3 separate regions of the Homo sapiens genome follow, and regions 1 and 3 are each linked to region 2. The links are contacts of gene promoters, found by promoter capture Hi-C in human tissues and cell types (Jung and others, 2019). All regions are on one chromosome and are shown on one strand. Each heading gives the region's core, a stretch centred on a gene start or on the middle of the fragment in contact. The rest is flanking DNA. Distances are from core to core; before and after follow the strand shown.

Region 1 (4,701 bases), core at 1,393-3,892, 37 kb after region 2:
TAACACACCTAATTAATGGAACTGTCCAGTGGTCTAACATGGAGAAGGAGAGAAGATGACATTATGAAAAGTTTAATCATTATAATAGCAGCTAACGTTTGTCTGGCATGTTGTAGTTTACAGAATACTTTAACATGCATTGTATCATATCTCACAGTGTAGGCATTACTATTATTTTTATTTTGCTGATAAGAGTAAAAAGTAGGCATTACTATTTTTTTATTTTGCTGATTAGAAAATTGCTGCTCTGCTTAATGACCAAGGTCATGGAAGCAGAAGGTAAAATAAAAGCCCCAGGGCTGGGCACGGTGGCGCATACCTGTAATCCCAGCAATTTGGGAGGCCGAGGCGGGTGGGATGACCTGAGGTCAGGAGTTCAAGACCAGCCTGGCCAACATGGCGAAAGCCCGTCTCTACTAAAAATACAAAAATTAGCTGGGCATGGTGGCGGGTGCCTGTAATCCCAGCTTCTCGGGAGGCTGAGGCAGGAGAATCTCTTGAACCTGGGAGGCGGAGGTTACAGTGAGCTGAGATAGTGCCACTGCACTCCAGCTTGGGCAACAGAGAGAGACTCTGTCTCGAAAAAAAAAAAAAAAAAAAGCCCAGAAGTTGAGGATAGTATGGTTATGTAAAAGTTTCACTTCCTCATGATTAGGAAAAGAATAAAAACTAAATAAAGAACCAAGTAGCAGAGTAGTTTGAAACGGTTTAATGCATGTAGACAATTTACAGTTTCATGTCATCCTAAAGCACTGCCTCCCACAGCTTATTTATGTGGAACAAGAGACTGACCACCTGGTTTCACACCTTGATTCTGCCACTTCCTTTCTACATGATCTCAGTCAGGTTGTTCAATCTCTTTGAGCCTCAGTCTTTCCATTTATAAAATGGGGAAGGATAATGGCATCCACCTCATAGAGTTGTTGTATTAAAATGAGTTAATATATGTAAAACTATTAGAACAATGCCTGGGACATAGAAGGTGCTAGGTAAGTAGGTAAATGTCAGCTATTATTATTTTTTATAGAGGAGTGGCTGAAGTGCTTTATATGAAAGGTGAGTATACTTAGCCATATTTATAATTAGAGAAGTAGAAATCAGAGCTTCTATAAGAGTTCAATAGTGCAGAATGTATATTTTGCATCTTAGGTATTGATGTGGTGTGGCTGTGTCCCCACCTAAATCTCATCTTGAACTGTAGCTCTCATAATTTCCACGTGTTGTGGGAGGGACCCGGTGGGAGGTAATTTAATCATGGGGGTGGGTTTTTTTCTGTACTGTTCTTTTAATAGTGAATAAATCTCATGACATCTGATGGTTTTATAAAGGGGAGTTTGCCTGCACATGCCCTCTTGCCTGCTGCATGTAGGACGTAACTTTGCTCCTCCTTTGCCTTCTGCCATGATTGTGAGGCCTCCCTGGCCATGTGGAGCTGTTAGTCCATTATACCTCTTTTTCTTTATAAATTACCTAGTCTCAGGTATGTCTTTATTATTAGCATGAGAACAGACTAATACAGGTATCATGCCCTAGTCTGGGTTTTCCTGTAGACTTATGTTCATTTACTAACCTTGGGATAAATGAAAATTTGGAGCATGCCTGTATGATTTCTCTTTCTAAAAACTCAAAACCCACAAAACTACAGTAAGGTGCTGTCCCCCTTCCATTATCCATAGACCCTTTTGCCTTTCTTAAAAAACACATGCACAGCACTCACACAGACACACCCCTGTAAGACATAAGGTACCTTGGCCATTTTCATGAAACTGTTGTTAATTCCTTTCTTTAAAATTGAAGTCTTTTAGGATTTTAACAAATATCCTATTCATGAAGTTTTGTCTGTTCTTTTCTTCTGGATTTCACAACTCACCTGTTCTAGGAGAGTCTTCATTATTTTGGAGAAGGCTTCAAATCTACTATCTTCAAGCTTTTTTCTTTCCAGTGCACCCGTCTCATCTCATGTAACGTGGTGCTGGGAATATAAGACTGAGATTGTGATGCTCACAGTTTTTCTTCTTTGTAATTTTCTGTGTCTTGATTTTTTCCCCCAATGAACATGTATCTATTTCACAAAATCTATTTTACTGTTAAATAAAATTTTGGTAAACACTGGAAGTAGGAAATTAAAATGTGCAAAATTGTAAATTATCATTACAGTTTACTTATCTTTCTTGTAGATACCAGATACAGAATGCTTTTGTTTTATTACATCTTTTTCTATATGCAAACCGTAAGCTGAGTGTAGCACCTGGTTATGAAATTTTGTACTTATAGAATATATTCACTTTTATTGGTGGCTATAATCAAGATGAAATGCTTTTCTTAATAATTAATGTTAAGAAGAGAAATGTAAACTTTAGACAACTTTATGACTTCTCTCCAGAGGATGTATGGATGTGACTGGGTATGTGATTTAAAAAATTTTTAAAGTTCTTTGGATTTTTTTTCTTTTGTTTAAAGGTCCTTAGGCGTTTGCCTTGGCTTGCTGAAGAGTAAGGAGAAAACCCTGTAAACTCATTCACTCAGAATAGGATGAGAGTATTGTAGATTTCTTTTCTCCTTTGAGACAATTTTAAAATTACAATGGTCTTAGCCTAAGTGGTCCCTGTTACGGCTTCTCTCTTTTCCATGCTCAACACAGCCTTTGAGGAGGGGCTGAGGGACACGCCACCTGTTTTCAAGTGTATTTATTTCTTTATGCCTTAATATGCCTAGTGCATCTCAGAATGGAAATGTCCTGGAAATTGAACAGCTTCATAGTTGGGTGGCCCCATGAGCATTTAGGAAATATTTTGTGAAACTGTTGTGGTCATCTTGTGTACTGGTTCTGGTACTTTAATCCATCATTTTGGGATCATAGCTCTTCTGAGGAAAGAGCAGCCTTGCACCTTCAAGCCTTTCTATCTTCAATCAGTTGGGTTTGCGTATTCGAGCTCATTCCAGTTCATGATTGGCAGTTTTTGTGTTAGGTACCCACTCTGAAGTGTTCCCTATCGTTTAGAAGGTAGAAGTAGTCATCAGTGACTGAAGCCTAATTTAGATTCTTAAATCGAAATCATTGTTGAAGAATACTGCTCCTCCACTACAGACGTCTTGTGCATATCATGAGTGTCTTCATCAGAGAACAAGCTCTCACCCGGTCTCTCATAATATAAAAGCATTTTTAATCCCTCTTAACAGGTGCTGCCGCAGTTTATTTATAACTAATGCATTAAAATGAAAAATACTGAAAGGGTCCTAAGTGGAAGGTGGCTATTGAAATATTGCCATATTTAAATTATAGAATTTTGTCAGGCTGATTTGTGGAAAGGACGAGTCAATGTTGGCTGGTAAGTGATGTACTCACAGGTTTCCTGTAAGTTCGGGTGGTGCTTTCCGCAGTGTATATAAGTGGGTTGTGCAAAATCTGAGACCTACGATTCAATTGATTTTCCTTTGCATAATCATAATCATATTCATATTTGGTCAGCTTTCATGCTCTTTGATATTTCTGATCCTTATGAAGCATGACAAATGTTAGAACTCTTTTGGCCTTCTAGACTTATTGCAGCACAAAAACTCGAGATCCTAATTGAAAGAATTTTGAAGAGTGTTTCATTTAACCCTTTTCTTCCTCGTCCAAATTTGATCTCACACATGGGGAAGGTAAATGCACACCTTAATATTGGTGCAACATGTTATTCTGAAGACACGTGCTAAACATTTGAAAGTCTTGTTGATTTATATTTCCACCATGTTTTCTCTTTCCTGAAAAACCTTAGCCAGCGACTGAAGTAGTTGGGTTGTATTAATGGATGTTTATGTTGTCCTGTGACAGCTGGTTTTGCTAATTTGTTTTTACAGGGCAGTTTGTAGTAAATGAATGGCATGCTGAATATTTTACTGAGATTTCAGATTATCTAAAGAATATTTTCCGGTTTACTAATTGGTAGATAATGCTGAGTACATTGATGTTGACATGAGCAAATGGATTTAAAATGATTTGAAGTGAGCTTCATTAAAAGATGCTCTAATCACAGCCAGCAGGAAATGTCAAACTAGTTCTGCCTTCATTCACTCTGGTGGACAGGAACTGTTGCAGACTTACGATGCTACAAGTCATTGCAGTTTTGATTTTGGGGTGCCACAGGGTGGGGGAAATGGTGGAAGTTTTTTTTTCATAGCTTTTTTGGCTCATCATGTCTTTACCAGAAACTAAATAACAAATTACTAATTACCTGTATGGCTAAATGAACATTCTCTGAAAATCATAGTCACATTGCTGGAGTCTTATAATCCATTATGGGTTGAATACATGGAAGTCATGTTTGTTGCTCACTCTGAACTAGAAGTCTGTAAATTACTTGTTATCCATTTTAGCAGAATTCTATTATAGAATTAAAGCCAGTGGTGCTCATCAAAACATTAAGAAAAACCTAGGCAAAGGCATTCCAAATTCCCAGGTTAAAACTTACAACACTGGTTCTACTTTTCCTGCCTGTAAAAAGTTATAGAGGCTGTTTCATCAAAATTGAATGCTTGGGGAAAAAAAATCTAAGGGAGGCAGATTCTGAAGTAAGTCTCTTCAGGATTAAAATCTGTCTTTTTCTGATATCGACTGTGCGACTTTGTGCAAGTAACCTAACCTGCCTGAACCTTCGTTTTCTTGTCTGTAAAATGGGGATAATAATATCTATCTCATGAGGTCATGGGACTATCTTT
Region 2 (4,210 bases), core at 821-3,320:
TCTCAGCTCACTGCAACCTCCGCCTCCTGGGTTCAAGTGATCCTCCTGCCTGAGCCTCCTGAGTAGCTGGGATTACAGGTGTGTGTCATCACGCCTGGCTAATTTTTGTATTTTTATTAGAGACGGAGTTTCGCCGTGTTGGCCAGGTTGATCTCGAACTCCTGACCTCAGGTGATCCATCTGCCTCAACCTCCCAAAGTGCTGGGATTACAGGCATCAGTCAGCGTGCCCGGCTGGCCTTAACTTTTTTATTCCAATTTTGGTGGAACTTTGCTCTCTATTTGGTCCGACCCAGGTACCTCACTGCCAGAGGTAGTAAGAACGGGTAGGACTTTGCAGACTGGGCATTATCCTGGCACCCACGTGGCAATGGTTTCCTGTCTCCTGTAGTGCTGTTCTCCTGTTGGAGCTTTCCCCACTTCTGAAGGACTGCCTGCAGTTCATGCATCGGGGCCTGTAATTACAGAGCAGAATATCCAGGGCTGTGAAGACCGGGCAGTCTCGAAATTAGTTTATGCATAATGGATAATAGGAGGCTGTTTTTAAGTGTAACTCATTTGGTGGGTTGGCAGATCATGACTTCCTTTTTGATATGTATTATTTATTTATTTTATAGCAAGATGAGGACAGAAGGCTGGGGAAGTCATTTGGCGCAGCTCTTCTAGACTATAGCTCAGACTTAGCAATTTACATTCAGTAATCTCTTGGTCATTTAGCCACAGATAATTTGTCATGGTTTGTTTTAGCTGTTGTGATATTGATATTTATTATGCAAATTGTATTTCCTACATCTTATTGTTCTGCATTCTATGAATACTTAAATTATTATAAACCTTTACACTTAATATGGCTCGTCCTTCAATTTGATGCTTGAGCAACAGAGGGTCAGAGCGCACACGATCTTCTAGAGGGGAAGAAAATAAGTAATTAAAAAGCAGACAAACAAGAGAGCCGGCTGCCTGGCTGAAAAGAAAGCAAAGAGAATTTCGGGGAGGGAGAGTGAGTCCGGAGATGCAAGTCGCTTTAGCAGGAGAGGCTCTCCCAGAGACAGGGGAAGCTCGGAGCACCTGTTGGTCCCCAGCTTCCTTAGGAAGGGCTGGGGGCGCAGAGGAGGAGTGAGAGGGTTTGAGCCCCGAAGGAGGAACACGGCAGACCCTGCCTTCACCACACTCCCTCTCCCCAACTCCCACCACCCCCGCTCTTCACCTGAAGCCTTGACTAATTTTTTCCGTTGTTGTGTAATCTTAAATATCTAATATTACAAATATTTCACACATATATTCAACACACACCTATATATTAAAACCAGGGAGGAGACCCTCGACAAGCGGAGGAGCCTGAGCATACCCTCCTCGATCTACCTTTCCCGAGATTCTGCCGCAAAAAGACCGACTGGAAAATCTCAGAACCCGACTCTACGGCTGCCTTCTCCAACTATCCCCGAGTCTACCGCTAGGCTGTTGAGCGGGCTCTCCCGCTCCGCCGGACGTGCAAAGCACGCATGCACTTCTCCCAGATTGTTTTGTCAATCCGGGGACCTGCCTTCTTACTCTCCACTCCCGCACAGCCCCCGTTCCCAAAGATCTATTCCTTCGGTGCAAGGTGAGTGACGGAAATTTGCAACGTCTGGTTCGCTAGGCCAGATGCACTCGGTGTGCGGGACAGAGGACCCTCTTAAGGGAGATTCTCCAGTCGTCGGTCTGATACAGCGATTGCTATAAACATTCCTAATAAAGGTGTACAAGAAGCTAGACCCGCCCCCTGGAGCCCGAGTCCTTGCACGCCAGGCGCCCGGGAGAACACTTTTTCCTTGATCCGGGGAAAGCAAAACCCGAATTTTAACATAAACATATTTGCATACGCCCCTCCCCTTGGCCCCGCCCCTAGGTGGCGCGGGCGCGCCGCCGAACGCCAGCGCCAGGGGGCGGGGTGGGGGAGGGAGCGAGGCCCTCCGAGAGCCGGGTTGGGCTCGCGGCGCTGTGATTGGTCTGCCCGGACTCCGCCTCCAGCGCATGTCATTAGCATCTCATTAGCTGTCCGCTCGGGCTCCGGAGGCAGCCAACGCCGCCAGTCTGAGGCAGGTGCCCGACATGGCGAGTGTAGTGCTGCCGAGCGGATCCCAGTGTGCGGCGGCAGCGGCGGCGGCGGCGCCTCCCGGGCTCCGGCTCCGGCTTCTGCTGTTGCTCTTCTCCGCCGCGGCACTGATCCCCACAGGTAGGTGTGGGCACCGACCGGTTGGCCCCTAAATCTCCGAAGGCACCCCAGTAGCCTTGGCCACAGAGGGGGGAAACGTTTCCATGACAACCTCCCCCCACTTCCTACATCCGAAGCGGAGGGAGTGTGGAGAGGAAACTCAGGGCTGAGAGGGAAGGGGCTGAGGGCATCTGTGAGCCCCTTCTCCCCTGCCCGGCTAAGTGTGAATGAGAGTCCCCAGGGATGGCTGCACCCACACCTTCTCTCCCCGGCTTGGCGCGGGGTGCAGAGTGGAGTGAGAATGGGGGGCCCGGGGGCTGTAAAGCATGGGGGAAGGGGATGGTTCAAAGACAACCTCAACCCTTCCGGACCCTTCTAAACTCGCCGTTCTCCCCGTAACTTGCAGGTCCTCCCACCTCCCAGGGCTGTCCATTCGCCCCCACCTCTCCAGAGGGCCCCCCCAGTTCTCCATCCCCGAAGCCTCCTGGTGGCTGACTCCCAGCCGCCCGCGGCGTGATTTCTCCCCGGTCCCCAGGACATCCCCAGACTTGTCTGATCTCCCCTGCCCCTTCCCCCAACGCGCTCTGCCTTTCTCCCCTGTCCCCAAACTGCACGCCTCTCGTGTTTCCCTCCGGCCGTTCGCAGCCCTCCGCCCCCTCGGCTCTGCTGCGGGTCTTTTTGGCCCGGCTCCAGGCGGGGAAAGTTCCCCGGCCCGGCCCCGCGGGGGGGGCGGCCGCTGTCGCCGCCTCTGCGGGAAGGCGCCGGGAGCCCGCAGCCCGCCCGCCCCACAGCGTCCTCTGCCACGAGTGGGGACACGGGATTTCCCGGCTGCCCGTTCTTTCGGCGGCCCGAGGGTGGCGGAGGGGGCGTCGCGGCCTCTGCGGCCAGGCGGGCACCCTGCGGGCCTCCGCGCGCTCCCTGCGTGAAGAGCAGTCTTGGGAATTTGCCCAGGGGCGGCTCTGCACGCCCGGTGCCTTCCCTGAAGACACCGAGCACTCGGCTGGAGCCCGATGTGTGGCTGCCCGTGTGCCGGGCGCGTTGGCGCGGTCGGGAAAGAAGAGGGCAGTGTTTGCTTTTGCTAACAAAAGGGAGCCGGAGCTCTTCCTCAGCGGAGAGGCCGGCTGTGCTGCACCCAGCCTCCCTTCCCGCCACCTCGCCGCGCTTGGCAGCCGCGCGGCGTCCTCTGGCCCCTGCTGCAGGCTCCAGGCGGGCGCCGGGACCGAGTGGCACGGGGCCGCGGGGTGCGAGCGGCGATGCAGGAGGGGATGCAGCAGGGCTCTGAGCCTGCAAAGCCCCTCCTTGCAGCTCCAGAGCTGCAGGACCCGGGAGCAACAAGTGGCGGAGGACGCCGAGAGCTCAGCCCCCACCTGCGGAGCCCCAGGCCCGGGCGGGCACAGCGTTGGGGCCACGGTGCTGCTTCAGGGGCGCCTCTCCGCTTGGGCTGTGCCTTTTGTTTACACGCTAGAGGACACACAGTTATGTAAACACCGCAGGAGACACGCTGTAGGAGACGGGGGATGTGTGGGGGTGCTAGCTTGAGATTTGGGGGACGCCGGGTTGGCTGCTTGCCCCCAAAATAGGCTTGCAAAGGAGCTCGGCTTGGGAAACCTATTGGGGGGCGTCTGGCAGCAGCGTCAATTCCAGCGCTGAGGGTTTTTTTCCTCCATGCCACTGTCTCCGGATGTTGTTTATGTGTTTTTCCTCTGTGAATTCTTAATTTATGAGTTACGAGATAATTGGGTTCAGCCGATGCCGGTGTGGTTACAACTTCATTTCAGGTGATGCCTCTGACTGGATGGGTTCAATAAAATGTTCCTGAAAGAGATCCCTCGTGCTGCTGCATTGTAAAAAGCGCCAGTGTCAGTTAAACGTGAGCGTGAGTAAAGGCTCGGTAACTGGCGCATAATAGAGGCAACAATAGACTTGTATTGGCTGCAAAAAAAAAAAAAAAAAAAAAAAAAAAAGCCGGGGGGCGGTGGAAAGCTGTGGTCGGGGATATTGCTTTTTGACTAAAAAT
Region 3 (4,080 bases), core at 1,117-3,616, 53 kb after region 2:
AAGTAAGTTTTGGGAGGGCGAGGTGGGCAGATCACTTGAGCTCAAGAGTTTGAGCCCAGCCTGGCCAACATGGTAAAACCCCGTGTCTACTAAAAATACAAAAATTAGCTGGGTGTGTTGGGGCATGCCTGTAGTTCCAGCTACTCTGGAGGCCGAGGCAGGAGAATCACTTGATCCTGGGAGGTGGAGGTTTTAGTGAGCCGAGATCCTGTCACTGCACTCCAGCCTGGGTGACAGAGCAAGACTCTGTCTCAAAAACAAAAACAATGACAACAAGTAAGTTATTTGGCCTAACTCATAGCCACTTCTGGAGAAAACAGTTCAAGGCACATAGCCCGTGATAAGTGCTGCTGTTTCTTTTCTTTTCTTGTTTTTTTTTTTTGGTTTTTTTTGGGGGCGAGGGGGGTATAGGGTTTCACTCTTGTCACTCAAGCTGGACTGCAGCCTTGATCTTGGCTCACTGCAGCCATGAGCTCCCAGGCTCAAGCAATCCATCTCCCAAGTAGCTAAGACTACAGGCATGCACCACCACACCCGACTAATTTTTGTAAATTTTGTAGAGATGGAGTTTTATCATGTTGCCTAGGTTGGTCTCATACCCCTGGGCTCAAGCGGTCTGCCTGCCTCAGTCTCCCAAAGTGCTAGGATTGTAGGCATGAGCCACTGCACCTGGTCGAGTGCTTCCTTTTCTATGAGGCCAGAATGTTTCTATCACACCTAGACTAACTAGTAATGTAATTTTATCTACCTGGTTAGTTAGATAAAATTTATCTAATTATATATATTTATACTGCAAAGCATTACATGCTTATAGGTTTGGCTTTTCTTTCAAGAAAGCAATGATACCTCCTGAGTATTTTCTTCCATCCCCATGTCAATCACTCCCACCCTTTCTCCTTAAAAATTATTTTGGAGACCAAAGTATAATAGATTTTACCCAGAAGTGATATTTCTCACCAATGTAAACTTTGTACTTTATCTCTTAAAAGGTGGAAAAAAAGTATAGTAAAATATTACATATGCACAGAGCCTAGAGATTATATTTTATTCTATTATTCTTCCAAGTTGAGTTTTGTGCTGGTCTTATTTTTATCTCTCCATCTATGTTTGCAGGGCTGCCTGTTTCCCCCAAGTGTTAATGTAAACACATTTTATTTTGAGACAGATCAGCTCACTTCCCTCTGGAAATCCATCCCTATAATGTGGTAAACCTCAATATAACTCTCTGGTCCGAATGACATTTCATAACTGTGTACAAATCAAACATACTGTTGATATTAAATGACAACTTTTAATGCCTATGTCAACAATTCACTTAAGTCTCATTTCATTAAAACGCTTCTGATCTGGGGAGAAGCTGCTTGTCTGAGTAGATAAAGCACTTGACTTTCACCTCTAGTTTCCGGGTTAAAGTGCAGTTGGTGAGCTGTAATTCAAATGGATTTTATAGGTTCTGGGCTAGGAGACTGGAACAAAAGTCTGGTTCACATAATCAGAGGAAATCTTGGGTCATCTGAACAAGTGGGTGTCAAAACCAGTGATTTTCACTTTATTTCTTGTGTAAGTGAGCTTGTCTTTGTGGATGATTCCCAGCCCCCCCACCCCCCCACCCCACCACCCCACCCCGCTGGCCCCGCCAAACCTTAGAAATTTTAAAAAAGAAATTAACGTGGTCAAGATAGTTAACAAGTAAATGGAGTACCTTCTAGACCTGGGAGGACATATCTTGTAAGTTAATCCATATTCATTCCTTGAATAGTTCTCCCTCGGTTTCTCTTCCAGAAGTTACAGCCAGCTTTGGGTCCTCCATTCTTGCCTTGAGGAAATTTCCAAAAAGTTTTTTTTTTTCCCCTCCAGCCCCAGATGCTCTCCTGACTCTTTCCAGGACTCTCTAGGGGACTGGCTTTTGATGGTTTCCTGAGTGTAATCCTAATTCCACCGGTGTTTTATACATATTGACTCCTCTGATTGTTTCCCTGTAGTTAGGAAAGAAGCCCAGGCTGGTTAGGAACCTCCTCTTATATGCCTAAATTAGCAAGGAAAACTGTTTCCCCCATTTCCATGGTCATGGTGTCTCTACTTCAAGAACAATCTCTGTGGGGATTGCTCATGTCTTAAACTGAAGCCAATGACTACACTATACCTGTTAAGTGGTCTGTAGGGGATGTTTGAATGAATAACAGTAGTTGCTGCTGCTACTTTAATAATGTCATAATGTTTTTGTTTCATACAACTTACTGAAGTTTAGGACTTGTGCACAAATTGCTACCTATGTCCTTTTTCGCCTGGGACCTCCTACTTTGTGAGCCCTCAGCAAATGTAGGATAATCAAGAAGGGGAAATTAGCCTTGTGGCTTTAACGGGTATCTTCAAATGGCTACACGTGGTAAAACCCTGGGATTGTGCTGAATTCTTACATACCTGTATCAATGCAGAAAGACCCTCAAAAAAATTACAGCCCTTTCCATAGTGGAACAATCGTAATATAAAATAAGTGGCTGTTAGGCTTCTTTCAGGTCTTGATAACTTAGGCAAGGCAGATAATTAATACAACCAAGATGACAGTTGACTATAATTGGCTGCTTATTATGAAGTTTAGACATTTTCCTCCCTTCTATCTCTGGGAGAAGGAAATTGCTCTAGCATATGTGTGTAGAAGACATAAAACTTGCTACAGCAGTATTTTTATTTCCAGATTATTCTTAAAGCTATTTAAAAGTCACCACAGAATGAGCTTTACAGAAGCAATGTAATGGCTCCTTTAGGTTTTTGTGTAAATTCAGATAACTGAAATGTTAGCCTTGATTGATGATTAAAAAGGAAGGAGGTACACCAAAGCTGATGGTGAGCTCTGGATACAGGATAAAGGAATTGGGGTTGTGGGGGAAAGATCTCACCATAGTCCCTTAAGTTCTTTTATAGAATTTCTGTTGTGATTGGTAACGTAAGGAGCATTTGAAAGATGATCGTTATTTGAGAAATGTTTCTGAACTAGAAACTTGCAAGCTTTGAATCCTGTTAATACTCACTGGCAATGATAGCCATTTTCCATTCCATGAGATCACTTTGGAACTTGAGCATAATTTTATTTCTGCTTCACAGTTCTTAAAATCCTGTTTGGAAATGTCATTAGGAGGATAAGGGATGTAATGAAAAATACGTTTTCTCATGTACCAAATCAAAGTGTATAGTTATGGAGCTGGCTATCTATACTGAACAACAGTTAACAAAATGAATTGGCTGCTTTCCGCATTTGAAGTTGTATAGTGTAAAATTCAATGAAACGTTCAATAACTGGAAAGATCACATCAGCATCAAGGATGCATTTAGCAGGTTTCCTCCTACCATATTACTAAGATAGAAGCACAGTTTTAGAACTAGGAATAAAGGCTATGAATGAAGTTAAAAACTGTGGGAGGCCTGGAAGTAGAAAGATAAGTAGGAGTGACTGGGCCTGGAAACTTGGATTTGGATGCAAGTGAAGGAAACAGAAAGATGGGCCTGTGCGGACCAGTATTTTATGATTGGTGCTCTTGTCAGTATCTTCCACTGAAGGCTGAAAGTTATTTCTTGAAACTAGCACCTGTCACACCCCTCCTTAAGGCAAAGGACCTTATTTTTGGTGGTTGAACTTGCTGGGTCAAACAGAATCACTATGCCTGATTCTCATGTTGTATGGAAAGACATAGGGAGGGGTGAAAGCAGCTTTTTTTCCATTCAGCGTTTTTAGCAGGTTTTTAGAGTGAGGAGTTATTCCATGAGTGAATGAATGGAATGAATGAATGAAAAAAAAAATGGCCAGGTTTGTTTTTCTTGGAAAGGTTTTATTTCCTATAAAGAGATATGGCATAATTGTGTTTTCCCTGGCATAAAATGAAAAATAAAATCTAGCAAAATGCATACTTAAGGGATGTGTGTGCACATGTGTATGTCACTATAATATATAATGAGACTGTTGAACTCTCTAGAATGTTTGGAACTATAAAGTTTAGCTGTTTTGAAATATTCCTCTGTTAGACATTGGCTTAGGGAAATACATGTTTTCGTATAAAACACCGAAAGCATTTTCGGTGGCATTGT

What was found. Contacts are between HindIII fragments. The study calls those that stand out against the background at their distance.
Region 1: a fragment that was not itself captured here is called in contact with the fragment with the promoter of CADM1 in region 2 in 1 of the 25 tissues and cell types used here (aorta).
Region 3: a contact is called between a fragment that was not itself captured here and the fragment with the promoter of CADM1 in region 2, in 1 of the 25 tissues and cell types used here (hippocampus).

The regions. Positions count from the first base shown.
Region 1 is chr11:115,465,569-115,470,269 of GRCh38, reverse strand. The region is part of intron 1 of CADM1 (cell adhesion molecule 1); the gene reads left to right. Among named protein-coding and RNA genes, the nearest start is that of CADM1, 36 kb to the left of the region's middle. The HindIII fragment of the contact is 6,588 bases long and covers 1-4,701 here.
Region 2 is chr11:115,502,275-115,506,484 of GRCh38, reverse strand. CADM1 (cell adhesion molecule 1) reads left to right here and starts at 2,070. Exons shown (of 12, transcript NM_001301043.2): 1 at 2,070-2,214. The coding sequence starts at 2,091. RefSeq lists a silencer at 1,885-2,044. The HindIII fragment of the contact is 7,329 bases long and covers 1-4,210 here.
Region 3 is chr11:115,449,690-115,453,769 of GRCh38, reverse strand. The region is part of intron 1 of CADM1 (cell adhesion molecule 1); the gene reads left to right. Among named protein-coding and RNA genes, the nearest start is that of CADM1, 53 kb to the left of the region's middle. The HindIII fragment of the contact is 7,902 bases long and covers 1-4,080 here.